Regions from separate parts of the Homo sapiens genome. Here all the other regions are linked to region 1. Evidence: promoter capture Hi-C in 16 types of primary human blood cells and fetal thymus (Javierre and others, 2016). All regions are on one chromosome and are shown on one strand. Each heading gives the region's core, a stretch centred on a gene start or on the middle of the fragment in contact. The rest is flanking DNA. Distances are from core to core; before and after follow the strand shown.

The links. Contacts are between HindIII fragments. The CHiCAGO score rates a contact against its expected background, and 5 or more counts as called.
Region 2: a fragment that was not itself captured here is called in contact with the fragment with the promoter of PEX2 in region 1 in 1 of 17 cell types (endothelial precursors); the score reaches 7.2 in endothelial precursors.
Region 3: a fragment that was not itself captured here is called in contact with the fragment with the promoter of PEX2 in region 1 in 1 of 17 cell types (fetal thymus); the score reaches 8.8 in fetal thymus.
Region 4: a contact is called between a fragment that was not itself captured here and the fragment with the promoter of PEX2 in region 1, in 1 of 17 cell types (endothelial precursors). The highest score is 6.1, in endothelial precursors.

Annotation. Positions count from the first base shown.
Region 1 is chr8:76,998,428-77,001,765 of GRCh38, forward strand. It overlaps PEX2 (peroxisomal biogenesis factor 2), which reads right to left and starts at 1,651. Exons shown (of 4, transcript NM_000318.3): 1 at 1,563-1,651. RefSeq lists an enhancer at 1,646-1,940. The HindIII fragment of the contact is 1,935 bases long and covers 1,622-3,338 here.
Region 2 is chr8:77,390,434-77,393,771 of GRCh38, forward strand. No RefSeq gene overlaps it. Among named protein-coding and RNA genes, the nearest start is that of PEX2, 390 kb to the left of the region's middle. The HindIII fragment of the contact is 2,267 bases long and covers 333-2,599 here.
Region 3 is chr8:77,339,150-77,342,487 of GRCh38, forward strand. No RefSeq gene overlaps it. Among named protein-coding and RNA genes, the nearest start is that of PEX2, 340 kb to the left of the region's middle. The HindIII fragment of the contact is 199 bases long and covers 1,700-1,898 here.
Region 4 is chr8:77,307,404-77,310,741 of GRCh38, forward strand. No RefSeq gene overlaps it. Among named protein-coding and RNA genes, the nearest start is that of PEX2, 310 kb to the left of the region's middle. The HindIII fragment of the contact is 408 bases long and covers 1,465-1,872 here.

The DNA of each region.
Region 1 (3,338 bases), core at 401-2,900:
TGTTCATAAAGAAAAACATTTCAAATTTGTATTGATAAAATAAATTGAAACAGAATAGGGACATATTTGTAGCTTTTAGAAATAAATTAGCTGTGAATATATTATTTTTAAAAACTGTAATAAATGTACATTGAGTACAAATGAATAATTATCCCAAAAACCAGAATTTTAATGCTAGAAGAAAAGGCAGATCATCTCGTTTAAGACATAAATTTAATCTTCTTAACAAGAACCTTGTTATTCAAGCGGAACACCTAAATGGCTGCTCTTGTTAAAATAAACCTGAGGGTGGGCTTGCTTTGTCTCTCCCTGCACGGCTCCAGAAAATTTCTACACAAGTTCTCCTATGGAACAGTTTTAAAACCCCAGCTTGAGTACTAACACTAGTTTCTAAAAATAAGGAGAATACGGCCAAGAGGTAAAATTGTACAAAGGCAACTAGAGTCAGGACTAGAATCCAACTGTCTTGATTTAGTCTAATACTCTTCAGTCTACTAGTCTAGTATTCGCTCTATGTCCTGTTACTTCTATTTTTTTTTTTAAGAAAAAAATATGAAGGGTTTTTTTTTTTGACTCTGTAAATAATTCTTTCAAATCTCTTTCTGGCTCAAGATCACTCAACTGTAATCTTTCTGGAAACAAGTAATTGATAATATAGGTGAGATCAGATAAGTTAAAAGAGCCACCCCAAGTTCATTCTGTTCAGGATTAAGTAAAGGTAACACTTTAGGGGAAGGTGTTTAGACTACAAGCTGCGGTGTTGTGAGCGCCCAAGTATCATTTAATTGTCCGAAACGTCAAGATAAAATATTTCCGAGGGGCATCACGGAAGTTTAACAGAATGTGTTAGACTTGAACGTTCAACAGCTTGCTCATTTTGCCAAAAGCCCTTTCACTAAATGTGGGAAATTTGGAAAATGGTACCTCAATAAATAAACAAACAACGATTTTTAATTTAAGAACCCAGGAAAAAATGTTAACAATTCTCACATTCAGATTTCTTATCAAAAGTCAACGTGAAATATAACTAATTTATCGCAAGCAATTTTATCAGAAACTTTTCATTATCTCTTCCTCCATAAGAAAACCAAACTGCATTTACGTGCGCTTTCAACAGTGTTAGAAAACTAAGCACTCAAATTTTTTGTACTACATATAACACTTTACATGAACTTTCAGATATTAAGTAAAGTTTGGATCCTCAATTCTTTATAAAGCCGTTTATAAGAGGTAAATATCTTCACGACCGCCAAATGAGAGAAAAAGATTTCGAAGTTCGTCTCTTAAGTTACTACGTGGAATGCAGAGGGGCTCAACTGCAGCTGTGTGTGTGTTTATTTTTAATGCCGCGATCCTAAAAACATCTTTAGGAGTTTAGGTTTGCTTCACTGCCTTTCCCAAAATTCAGCAGCTTTGATTTGCCTTTTCCAGGGAGACAGGAAGCCAATAAACAGGGAAAAAAAAGCAAACGGCGACAATTACAAGGTCGTGAAACTCCACGACCTCCCAGCTGAAAACAAGACCTCGGGTTTGCACTCCGGCTCTCTAGGGCAGACACTGACCTTAGGAGTCTGCGAAACGCCCACGCTCCACGTAACTTTCTCTGAAACATTCTCTGGAAAGCTTGTCTTTTCCTAGCCGAATCTGGATTACCAAGGCTTCCGGAACTCGCAGGCTTCCGGAGCGACGCAGGAGCCGGAAGTGGCTGAAAAAAAAAAGAAAAAGTTACACCAACGAGAACTGCGCTTTAGCGGCGCTGCTGAAGGCACTGGATGGCCAAACAACCGCGAACGCCGACAAGCCGAAGAGCCGAAGGGCCGAAAAGCCGAAGCGGACACCCGCGCGCGGTGATTGGCCGGTTGGCCGGAAGAACTCTGTCTCTGATTGGCAGGAGAGTCACGAACCGGTCAGCCCCGGGTCAGGGGCCGCAAGTGAGGACACTACAAGTGTCGAGGGGCCTAGGGGAAGCCGGGGCTTGGGAGGGCAGGGCTTTCTCTGCTTGCGGACATCGCGAAGGGCCTCTGGCAGGCGCCGCCGGGTGGCGGCGAGACGCCTCCGCGCCTCCGGGGTTCCTTGTTCGCTGTCGGAGGAGGACCGGCTGAGGGATGGCCTGGTGGGGAGGGAGCCCTCGGGCAGGTGGCTGCGTCGGGCCTGGGGCAGTTGTGCTGCGCTTGGAGACCTGCCCGCCCTCGGGGCCTGTGTGCACAGGGAGGATAGGCTGTTTATCTCTGCAGGCTCAGGAAGGCAGGTAGCTGGCCCGTCAGTCATCCGCCCTGCAAAGCGCTCCCGAGAGACCCCGTAGAGCGGGCCAGCGCGCGCCTGGCCTGAGGTTTCCCGCCCCCGGAGGCCCTCACATCTCCCCGGTAACGCTTAGGAATTCGGGCAGCCAGCTCGCCTACCCCTGGGGAATCGAGGCAGAGCTTCTGGGAATGGGGTCTGAGGGAAGAGTGCTCACCAGGCAGTGACATGTAGCCGTTGAGGATCGCCACTGCCTTCTCGTTCTGTGGTATGAATGGCAGTGTCTCTCTAGAGAGTTAGTGCTTAAGTTTGAATGATGGCAGGCACTTCAGGATTCCAGCACGTAGTAGGGTTTAAGAACGTCTTAGTTCTTACCTCCAGTCTCGACTCACCGTTCCTACAAGGAACACTCACTTCTACGAAAGCTCTATTAGACATTCGAGGGAGAGCTTATACTGTAGAACCAGTGTTATTAGGAAAGTTTTTTTTTTTTTGCTTGTATTTTTATTTCAGAAACTACCCATGGAGCAGAGTTGCTAAAATAAAATTTATTAACTCTAATGCTATCCAAATTGTGAAACAATGGTACAAATGAGATAGAGTAGAAGCTACAAATTGATAGAGTATGTAGTTCACTTAGGGGTTTGGGAGTGGATTTTCTAGAGCTGCAACTGTCCAGTGTAGTAGTCACTGGCCACCTGAAAAGTGGCTAGTCTGAACTGAGGTCTGCTCTAAGTGTAGAACATGCACCAGATTTCTAAAGCGTGGTCTGAAAAGAAAAAGAATGTAAAGTATTTCATTAATTTTATATTGCTTACATGTCAAAATGAGAATGTTTTGGAAAATTTTAAATTACGTGGCTTCCATTATATTTCTATGGATACTGCTGTTCTAGAGAGTAAAAAAATCTCACTGAAGAAGAGTAGGCCTTTCGTTTAGCAACTGTGAAGAAAACCAACCACGCTGCACCTCTCAGGTAGCCTACAGATGTGCTGTGCTTCACTTAATTTTTGAGAGGGACGGGGGAAAATACACACAAAGACTTGATTGACATAGAGGACATTTTCAGAAAGCAAATTCTGGTTCATAGAGCCTTATGT
Region 2 (3,338 bases), core at 216-2,715, 390 kb after region 1:
TTTCTCTGCTATTGAGGACATTTCCACTTCTACTTATCTCGACTCTATAACAACTCCAACAGAATATGGTCTAATTAATCATTAGTAACTAATGATGTTATCTAGTATTTGATAATAATTGCATTTCTGGTACTGAGGAAATCCTTCACTGTGCGTAATTGGCTTCTCTGGATGGAACAGAAAAAATACGACACCAAGAAAGAGAAAGAGAAAGGGAAAGAGAAAAGAGAGAGAGAGAGAGAGAGAGACTCATTTCACATTGCTAAATATTGTGATTTTCACTCAAAATAAGTGGACTTGAGAACAATAAAGAGTTCAAATCACGATGCTAAAGCTTAAGAGATAGTTTCATTTAGATATATGTTTGAAAGTGTTCCCCAAATTTCTTGTGTTGGAAACAGTCCACGAATTCATATGTTGCTTGGAGGTGGGGCCTTTGGGAGGGGATTAGTGACTTTGTAAGATAAGGAAGAAAGACCTGAAATGACACGCATGCTCTTGCCCTCTTGACATGTGATGTCCTTTGCCATGTTATGATGCTGACAGAAGCCCCTCATCAGATGCTGGTGCCATTCTCTTGGGCTTCCGAGCCTCCAGAACTGTGAGCTACGTAAATTTCTTTTATTTATAAATTATCCAGTATATGATACAGGTTGAATATTCCTTGTCTGAAATGATTGAATTTTTTTTTGATTTAAGAATTTTGTATTATACTTACTAGTTGAGCAGCCCAAATCTGAAAATCTGCAATCCAAAATGCTCCGGGAATTATTCCTTTGAGCTTCATATTTGCACACAAAAACTTTTGAATTTTAGATTTTTTGATTTGTGATGTTGAACCTTAGTCCATTTTCTTAGCAACAGAAAATGGACTAAGTGACATAGTTTGTTCTAATGTGTGATTCACATTGAGTATAATATTACCACTGTCATCATATATATTATGATTATTGTAATATAAATTCAAACTTTTAATTTAAATGTTAGTTTATTAACCTAGTAATGTGTACCATAAAACTCAAATCTTTCCATAACAATGCTAAAAAGCAATAGCATGAGATAGTAGAAACAGTGAAGGATTGAAAGTTTAGTTTGTTCATAAAATGAGATAGTAATGTTAGCTTACATTAGGGGTAAAAATAAAATCATTCATATTAAGTGATTTTGTATAATGCAATAGGATTTTTTAATTTAATTAACTAGCAGGTAGTTTATTATAAAAATAAGAAATTAAATTACTTAAGCACACTGGAGTAATTCTTACCTGAAGAAATTTCTTGCTTAGGCTGGGCATGGTGGCTCATACCTATAATCCCAGCAGTCTGGGAGGCTGAGGCAGGAGGATCACTGGAGCCCAGGAGTTTGAGGTCAACCTGGGCAATGTAGTGAGACTCCATTTCTACAAAAAATTAAAAACTTAGCGAGGGAAGTGGCATGCATCTGTAGTCCCAGCCACTCAGGAGGCTAAGCTGGTAGGATTACTTGATCCCAGGAGGGCAAGGTTGTAGCGAGCTGTGATCACGCTGCTGTACTTCCAGCCTCGGTAACAGAGAGAGATCCTGTCTCAAAAGAAAAAAGAAAGAAAGAAAGAAAGAAATGCCTTGGTTATATGAAACAAGTGTGTGGAAGTCCTCCTCCTTTTAGGTTTGTTGCAAGAATATGATAGTTCCTTGATTTTCTAAGATGTAAAAACAGCATATGTAAAATTACCCCAGGCTGAGATAATTGGTTTCACTTTGATATCCCTCAGTTTCCACATTTACATTAAGCGTACTACGAGAAAGACATGCTTGTTTATTTATTCTAAGTGGGTCTATAATGTTTAGATAATGTAATGAATGGAATATATCTGGTATCATGCACATTAATTTCTTATTTTAGCCATGACCTTAAATGCAGTACAAACTGATAAAATTATAAGAATGTGAAGAGAGCACAGAAGAAGAAAAAAGCCAAAACAGCTAATATCTGATGCATACATGAGGGAGAAAGCTGTTCTTGCAATTGAAAAAGCTAGAAGACACCTTGCAGTCATTGCATTTGGATGTAATAGCTACCAAACATAACCACAAAGTGGAACTTGTTCATCTAGAACATCACATAACACAGCCTGAAAGGGTCTTTACAGCTGCTAAGAAACTTTGTAGTCAGAAAGATCAGCTACACCCTTGAGATTGTGAGAAAATGGGGAAACATATCTATTCAAAAATCACATAGCTGTTGAAAAGGAAAGGGAGCTGGAAACATTACTTTGCACATCTTTTTCTGAATTATTGAGGAATATCTATTTTACCATAAATTTTTTGACTTCATCTCTCTTGTTGTTTGTCTCTAAATTCAATATATACTGTAAGTGTTGGTTATAGAAATGCTATCAAGTTTCGTTTAGATATAAATTAAAACTAAATAAAATTGTAGTATTTATCCAATTATGCCTGTAGATGGCTCGAAGATAAATCTGCCAAAACTGTAAGTGTAAATCCTTCCTTATTTACTTTGTATTTCAGAGGCAAAGCAAATGGCACATTTTTCCTAGTAAGGAAAATGACACATATCTGACAGGTGAAATTAGCAACATCTACTCAATGCAGTTCACTAAAGCTTTACTGTATAGAAAGTGCTACCTATAGGACTCTGAACAAGATGCTAGTAACACACAGATGGATAAATAGGGCAATGTCCTTGTCTACATAAAGCTCATATCTTGGTAGGAGTTCACAGAGAGGACGATGATGATACATATGTTCCAACTATGTGGTTTACTGCAAAGTATATATATATATGTATGCATGTGTGTATATATATATATATCTACTTTTAAAAGTATATAATTTTTATTGTTCATGCAAACAAAAAAGTGATTTGCCTTCTTAAAAAATAACATGATCCAATAGTTGAAATCTGTTCAAGTTTACAATCTTTGTCCCCAAGTTTTCCAATTTCTATTCCTTTAAATATATATACATAAGATGTGAATGGTGAATTCTACTAATTTGGACTTTTCAAACTCATATTATTTTGTAAAGCAGTACTTTCTTGGCCCAGCATGGTGGTTCATGCCTGCAATCCCAGCTCTTTGGCAGTCAAAGGTAACAGGATCGCTTTAGGCTGGTAGTTTGAGGTTATAGTAAGCAGTGCGAGATAATCCTGCCACTGCACTCCAGCCTGGGCAACAGAGCGAGACCCCATCTCTTAAAAAAGAAGAAAAAAAGAAAGAGTAGTAGTGCTTTCTTTCTTTTTGAATCTGAATATTACTAGAGTCTGCTCAGAATAGGAGAATGAAAGAACTGGCCATTGAGAGTTTAGGACCTTTAAGTTTTCTGTGGAAAAACACACAA
Region 3 (3,338 bases), core at 549-3,048, 340 kb after region 1:
CAGTGTTGGAGGAGAGGCCTGGGCAGAAGTGACTGGATCATGAGGACATATTCCCCCATTGTCCTAATGATAATGAATGAGTTCTCACAGCTCTGGTTCTTTAAAAGTTTGTAGCACCCCCACCCCAAACTCTCTTTCTCCTCCTCCAGGCATGTAAGATGTACCTCCTTACCCTTTACCTCCAGCCATGACTGTAAGACTCCTGAGTCCTCCCCAGCCATGCTTCCTGTACAGCCTGTGGAAATGTGAGCCAATTAAATCTCTTTACTTCATAAATTACCAAGTCTCTGGTAGTTCTTCATAGCAATGCAAGAACAGGCTAATACAGAAAATTGGTACCAAGGAGTGGAGCATTGCTATAAAAATACCACAAAATGTGGAAGCAATTTTGGAACTGGGTAACAGGCAGAGGTTGGAACAGTTTGCAGGGCTCAAAAGAAGACAGGAAGATGAGGGAATATTTGGAACTTCTTAGAGACTTGTTGAATGGTTGTGACCATTCGACTAAACATTTAACTAAATGCTGATAGTGATGGACGTTGAAGTACAGGCTGAGGTGGTCTCAGATGGAAATGAGGAACTTACTGGAACTGGAACAAAGGTCAACTTTGTTGTGAGTTAGCAAAGAGGTTGGAGGTATTGTGCCTCTGTCCTATAGATCTGAGGAACTTTGAATTTGAGAGAGATAATTTAGGGTATCTAATGGAAGAAATTTCCAAGCAGCAAAGCCTTCAAGATATGACCTGGCTGCTTCTAACAGCATATGTTCATATGAATGAGAAGAGATGATCTGAAACTGAAACTTACATTTAAAAGGGAAGCAGAGCATTAAAGACAGAAAAATTTGCAGCCTGACCATGTGGTAGAAAAGAAAAACCCATTTTCTGGGGAGGAATTCAAACTGGCTATAGAAATCTGCATAAGTAAAGAGGAGCCGATGTTAATAGCCAAGACAATTGGAAAAATGCCTTGAAGGTGTTTTAGAGACATTTACATCAGCCCCTCCCATCACAAGCCCAGAGGCATAGGAGGAAAGAATGGTTTCATGGAGTGGGCCCCAGGACCCACTGCCCTATGAAATCTCAGAATACTGCTCACTGTGTACCAGGTGCTCTAGCTGCAGCTGTAGCTAAAAGGGCCCCAGATACGTCTCAGGCTGCTGCTCCAGAGGGTGCGAAACATAAGCCTTGGCAATTTCATGTGGTGTTAAGCCTGTGGGTGCACAGATGGCAAGAGTTGAGGCTTGGGAGCCTCTGACTAGATTTCAGAGGATATATGGAAACACCTGAGTGTCCAGGTGGAAGTCTGCTGCAGGGGCAGAGCCCTCATGGAGAACCTCTACTAGGGCAGTTTGGAGGGGAAATATGTGGTTGGAGACCCCACACAGAGTCCCCACTGGGGCACCGCCTCTTAGAGTTGTGAGAAGAGGACCACTATCCTCTAGACCCCAGAAATTTCCTCCAGACCCCATTGACAACTTGCACTGTGCACTTGGATAAGCCACAGGCACTTTTTACAGAGTCTGGATATTAGAACTTTGTCGGATGCATAGTTTGTAAATATTTTCTCCTGTTCTGTAAGTTGTCTGTTTACTCTGTTGGTAGTTTCTCTTGCTGTGCAGAAGGTCTTTAGTTTTATTAGGTCCCATTTGCCAATTTTTTATTATTTCTGCAATTGCTTTTGGCATCTGTATCATGAAAGCTTTGCAGAGGCCTGTGTTCAGAATGGTATTTCCTAGGTTATCTTCCAGGGATTTTATAGTTTTAGGTTTTATTTACTTCTTCCCTGTCTAAGCAATCAAATACATTGCTATGGATGTGTAATCTACCCCTCTTTTTTTCTCCTTTGTGCCTTTGTACAAATTTTTCTGAATTTCTTTAAAAGTTGTTATATTACAAAGCTTTTGGGATGGAACCTCTTAAATAAGTTAACTGTATTCAGAGTGCAGAGTTCAAAGTGTATTACCTTTTCAAGACAACCCAATCATCAATGACGTAGTCCCTGAATGGCCTTAGTTTATATTCATGGCAATGTTTACTATCCATGAAGGTCTGACCTAAAATTTGATTACTTTATTTCTTATGAAGCATATAGAGTCAACTGATAAACGTAAAGCTAGACTCAATAATAATAAGGTATAAGTCAGTTTTTTTCACTCATTTGCAGAGATTAAGTGTATACACAGAATATTCGCAATACATATAAGACAATGAATTTATATAGTTTCTGATATGTAATTATAAACACAGAATTATTTATTTTAGAACACCCTTTCTGAATAATGTATTTAATTTTTCCATCATTTAAAAATATGTTTTATGAATAAATATATAGTTAATTATTGGGGAAATAAAATTATTGTGGAAAATTACCCATAGCAAGATTTAATATTGCAAAAATTTTACACCCCTTTATTTTGTACATGTTTACCTTTGCATGTCCACTGTCTGAGAGAGTGTCTACTGCCTAGTAGGCAATAAATAGATATACATAGAATAAATAAATAAATAACATATAGTTCAAAGTTTGATAAACATATGTGAAGATTATATGGCCTTTTGGGGCTTTTCTTCTTCACATCCTTGAAAACAGTTTTTAGTGATTTTCAGTGAACTATTTTTGATTATAAGTCTTCACTGATTTAGTTCCCGATGACTATAGTTCTTATATTCTGATTATTGCATACAAATAAATTTGGCCTATTAATTACAGAGGGAACTTATTTTAGAAATTTGCAATTCATTCTTTATGGAACTATGGATGTCATTTTCCCTGTTTTAGGTCTATTCTTGAATGAATATAAATGTTAGACCTGGTTAGACTAAAATACACCATTGGTGAGTAAGTGAGAATTTTTTTCTACATACTATTGAGTATCTTGTATATGTCAAACAATGTGCTATTTTGCCTATATTATTTCTTTTAATCCATTTTATAGCAAGAAGAAGAAAGTATCACTTTGTGGCTATGAAAACTGAAAATTAAAATTGCTAAATAAGTAACATAAGGTTTATGAGTAGCAAACTTAGATTTTGGAGCCAAAAAATCTTTCTCCAGAACCTGTGTCTGTAACTACGACATTACATTTCCTCACACAGGGCAGATACTTTATATTACTTCCCAAAGTAATCACACACCTTAAATAGTGTGTGGCACAAAGTAGGTGCTGAAATAATTTGTTATAACAGGATGGTTAATCTAAGGTCAAGTCTGTTGTCATAACAAATACCAGAAAGATAAGATTTTTAGAATAACATAATTTAGAATTTCTGCAACAAAATGACTTCAGATATTCTTTTTAGCTCCTCATAGATATATAAGATATATATAATTGACAG
Region 4 (3,338 bases), core at 419-2,918, 310 kb after region 1:
CGGTATGCTGACACAATTTTAAAATTGCTGAAAAGTGCCCATTGGATTTAGCTATATGGAGATCTTGGTGACTAACAAGAGGAGTTCAGCAGAGAGGTAGAATTCAGTGGGATGAAATCAATGTGTAGACAGCAAGTTTAGGCAATTGTTTTATTGTTTAAAAACTTTACCAAGGTATATTTTCTTCATCATAAAGTAGACAGTACTTGTGAGTGTTGATGTAAATGGGAATATTGCTGTAAATTGGAGAAGCAGCTGGACTATAATATAAGGTGAAGGGAGGTGGGTTTCTAAATTTTAATTAGTTAATTAATTTGTTTTTAAGATGGGAGAGATTTCAGTACGAATATGATGATGGGAACCACCCAAGACATTTATACAGAAGGGAGAAACATGCAAAGAGCAAAACTCAAAAGTGTGTGAAGTAGAGGAGATAGTATACAGGGCAGAAGTTGAGAGGTTAGCTTTATCTAAGAGGAAAGACAATGTACCTTCTTATGATAGGAAGGAAGGTAGCATATGTAGGTAGAGATGCAGGTTGGTGGGTATAGTTGGTGGTGGAGGTTTTTGTAAAGCCTCTACTGATTGGTTTCATTTTCTCAGTGAAGCTTAAAGCAAGGTCATCAACTAAAAGTGTAAGTGTCTGTGTGTTGATGGGGTAGGGTCTCTGGAAGTCTGACTAGAGAGAAGACAATATGAAATAGCCCTTGAGAGAATGAACCAGTTAAGAAAATGACGGCTACATAGTACCAAGTTTCCATCTGAAATTGGAGGTCATGCACTTAAAATAACGTTAATCAGCACAGTTGGACTTTTTCTCCTATCACAATTAGAGATATAGGAGTATGTTCAAGTAGGAACTGAATTAGATTTGACCAGGTGTTAATCTAGGTGTGACTTTGCCCAAGAAGTGGGCAGGGAGGAGGACAGAAACTGAGAACATTACAGTAAGTGAAAAAAGTCAGCCACAGAAAGACAAATACTGCATGATCTGGTTGATGTGGAAATTTAAGAAGTCAGTCTCATAAAAGCAGAGTGGAATGGTGGTTACCAGAGGCTGGGGATGTTGGGGAGATGTTGGTCAAAAGATACAAAATTACAATCAGACAGGAGGATTAAATTCACAATATGTATTGTACAGCATGGTGACTATAGTTAACGAGGATATATTGTATTATTGAAAAATTCTAAGTGGATGTTAACTGTTCTCACTGCAAAAGTGATAACTATGTGAGGTCATGCATATTTTAATTAGCTCAGTTTAACTATTCTGCAATGTGTATATACCTCAAAACATCACAATAAACACAAACAATATTATCTATTTAAAATAAAAATAAATAAATAAATTTGAAAATAAAAAAACTGATAATGCCTCCTAAGGAGGGATTATAATGATGCTCCATGGAATATAAACTGAGTAAAACGACACTGAGATCCTGAAGCAGGGGAGGACCAATGAAAAGCTTAGAGTCAATAACTTAGAGATCCTGATGCCATCAAAATATTTCATACAGGCCTTTCATAAATAGGAAAAAGGTGACTTGTTGGCTTTTAGTTCAACCTTAAAAAATACGTCTTCCAGTTACCTGCAGAATTTCATTTTCTTAATGTCTGTGAATCAATTGATTTCAGTGATTCTAACTAAATCGTGATTTTTGTCTGAGGCGTAAGTCCTATTTCTATGTGATTTTTTGCTGAATAGGGCTACTTGGATTGCATATGAGGAATCAGTAGTTTTTATATCTTTCAAAAATAAGCATGCTTTTGAAAGCAGTAGGGTAACATGGAACCTATGGTAATTATTTGCAATAGTGTTGAGTAGCACATTCAGAATTTATGCAGCAGAAACTTTTAGCTTGAATGAATTAAAGCTTTTGGATTTGAAAACCTATCTGTTTCTTAATATAATCAGATATGTGACTCTCTGTAAACTTTCTTTGCTTTCAAAGGCAAACATAACTAATAATTTCTGTAAAGGTCTTGAATCGTTCCAACATCTGTTCTTGGTTTACTATAAAAACCATGTCTCTGATCTCATGTGTTGAACTACTGTATGTTTGCCACTGTCTATTTCCTGTGAAAAAATACATCGAACAATAATAGCTTTTGTTCCTAACGTTCCAACCACTAAAACAGCTGAACAAATAACATCCATGCTTTCATTTGGAATAATTTATTCCATGTACATGTTTATGCAGAGTCATTTGGCTTATTGGACGTTTCATCATTTAAAAATCAAATCTCAGAATTTTAGACTACTGAAAACTCTGGTCTAATAGTTTCCTCATGTTTATAGTAATTCTCTTAACAGGATTTCCTTCCTAATTCATCATCTTATTTTGTGTAGGGTTTGGTATATGAGTAAAAGTGGTTAAAATTCCCTGCATTAACAAAGTTAGTGAAAATTTCCATTCGAGGCTACACATTTTGCGAATAACATTAAAAGATTAAATAATTTGGCATTTGAGCCATAAAAAGTAACTATTTCTGCTCTTTTGTTGCCTAAAGAAATAATAACTAAACAGTACTAATGATACAAATTATAATACATTTGTCTTAACACACTCCAGATGACTTAATGATGGGGCAGCAACACAGAGCAAGCCTCACTTCCATTCCACAAAAATCTTAGTACACAAACTTTACTAGCCCAGACATGGAAGAAGTTTTGCACTGATTAAATAAGACAGATAAAAAAATACTCATTAAAAGTTAGAAAAATAAGTTATTTAAAAGTCAATTTTAAATCATTTGCAGTGCCATCAGTTTGGAATTTTTTAATATACTTTTTTTTTGTTTCTAAAAATTTGGAATGATAATTTAGAATCCATTTACCACAACATCCACTGAAAGCCAAAAATTTGCAGTGGGTCATTCAGCTATACAGTTGATTCAGTGTTTAATAACAGACTACCTAGAAGGCTCGGGATACCTAATGTTTTCAATTTACATTCACATATTATAATCTATGAATAAAATGAGTTTAAGTTTTAAGGTTTGAGTTTTAAGGTTTAAGGTTTTAAGGTTTGAGTTTGAAATACCAGCATTTGAGAGGTTAACATTTCATCAGAATTCCACTGCCTTAAAGGAATAACTACTTTCTTGTTTGCACTGTGTTCTAGTTCAGGAAATAAAGAAATTATGACTGTATTAGTTTGCTAGAGTTGCCATAACCAAGTACCACACACTAGGTGGCTTAGGACAATAGAAATGTATTATGTACAGTTTTAGAGGCCAGTGTCAGCCAGTTCACACTCCCCCTGGAGGTAACTATGGCAGGATCTCTCCTGGCTTCTGGTAGTTCCTTGGCTTCTGACAGCAAAACTTCCATCTTC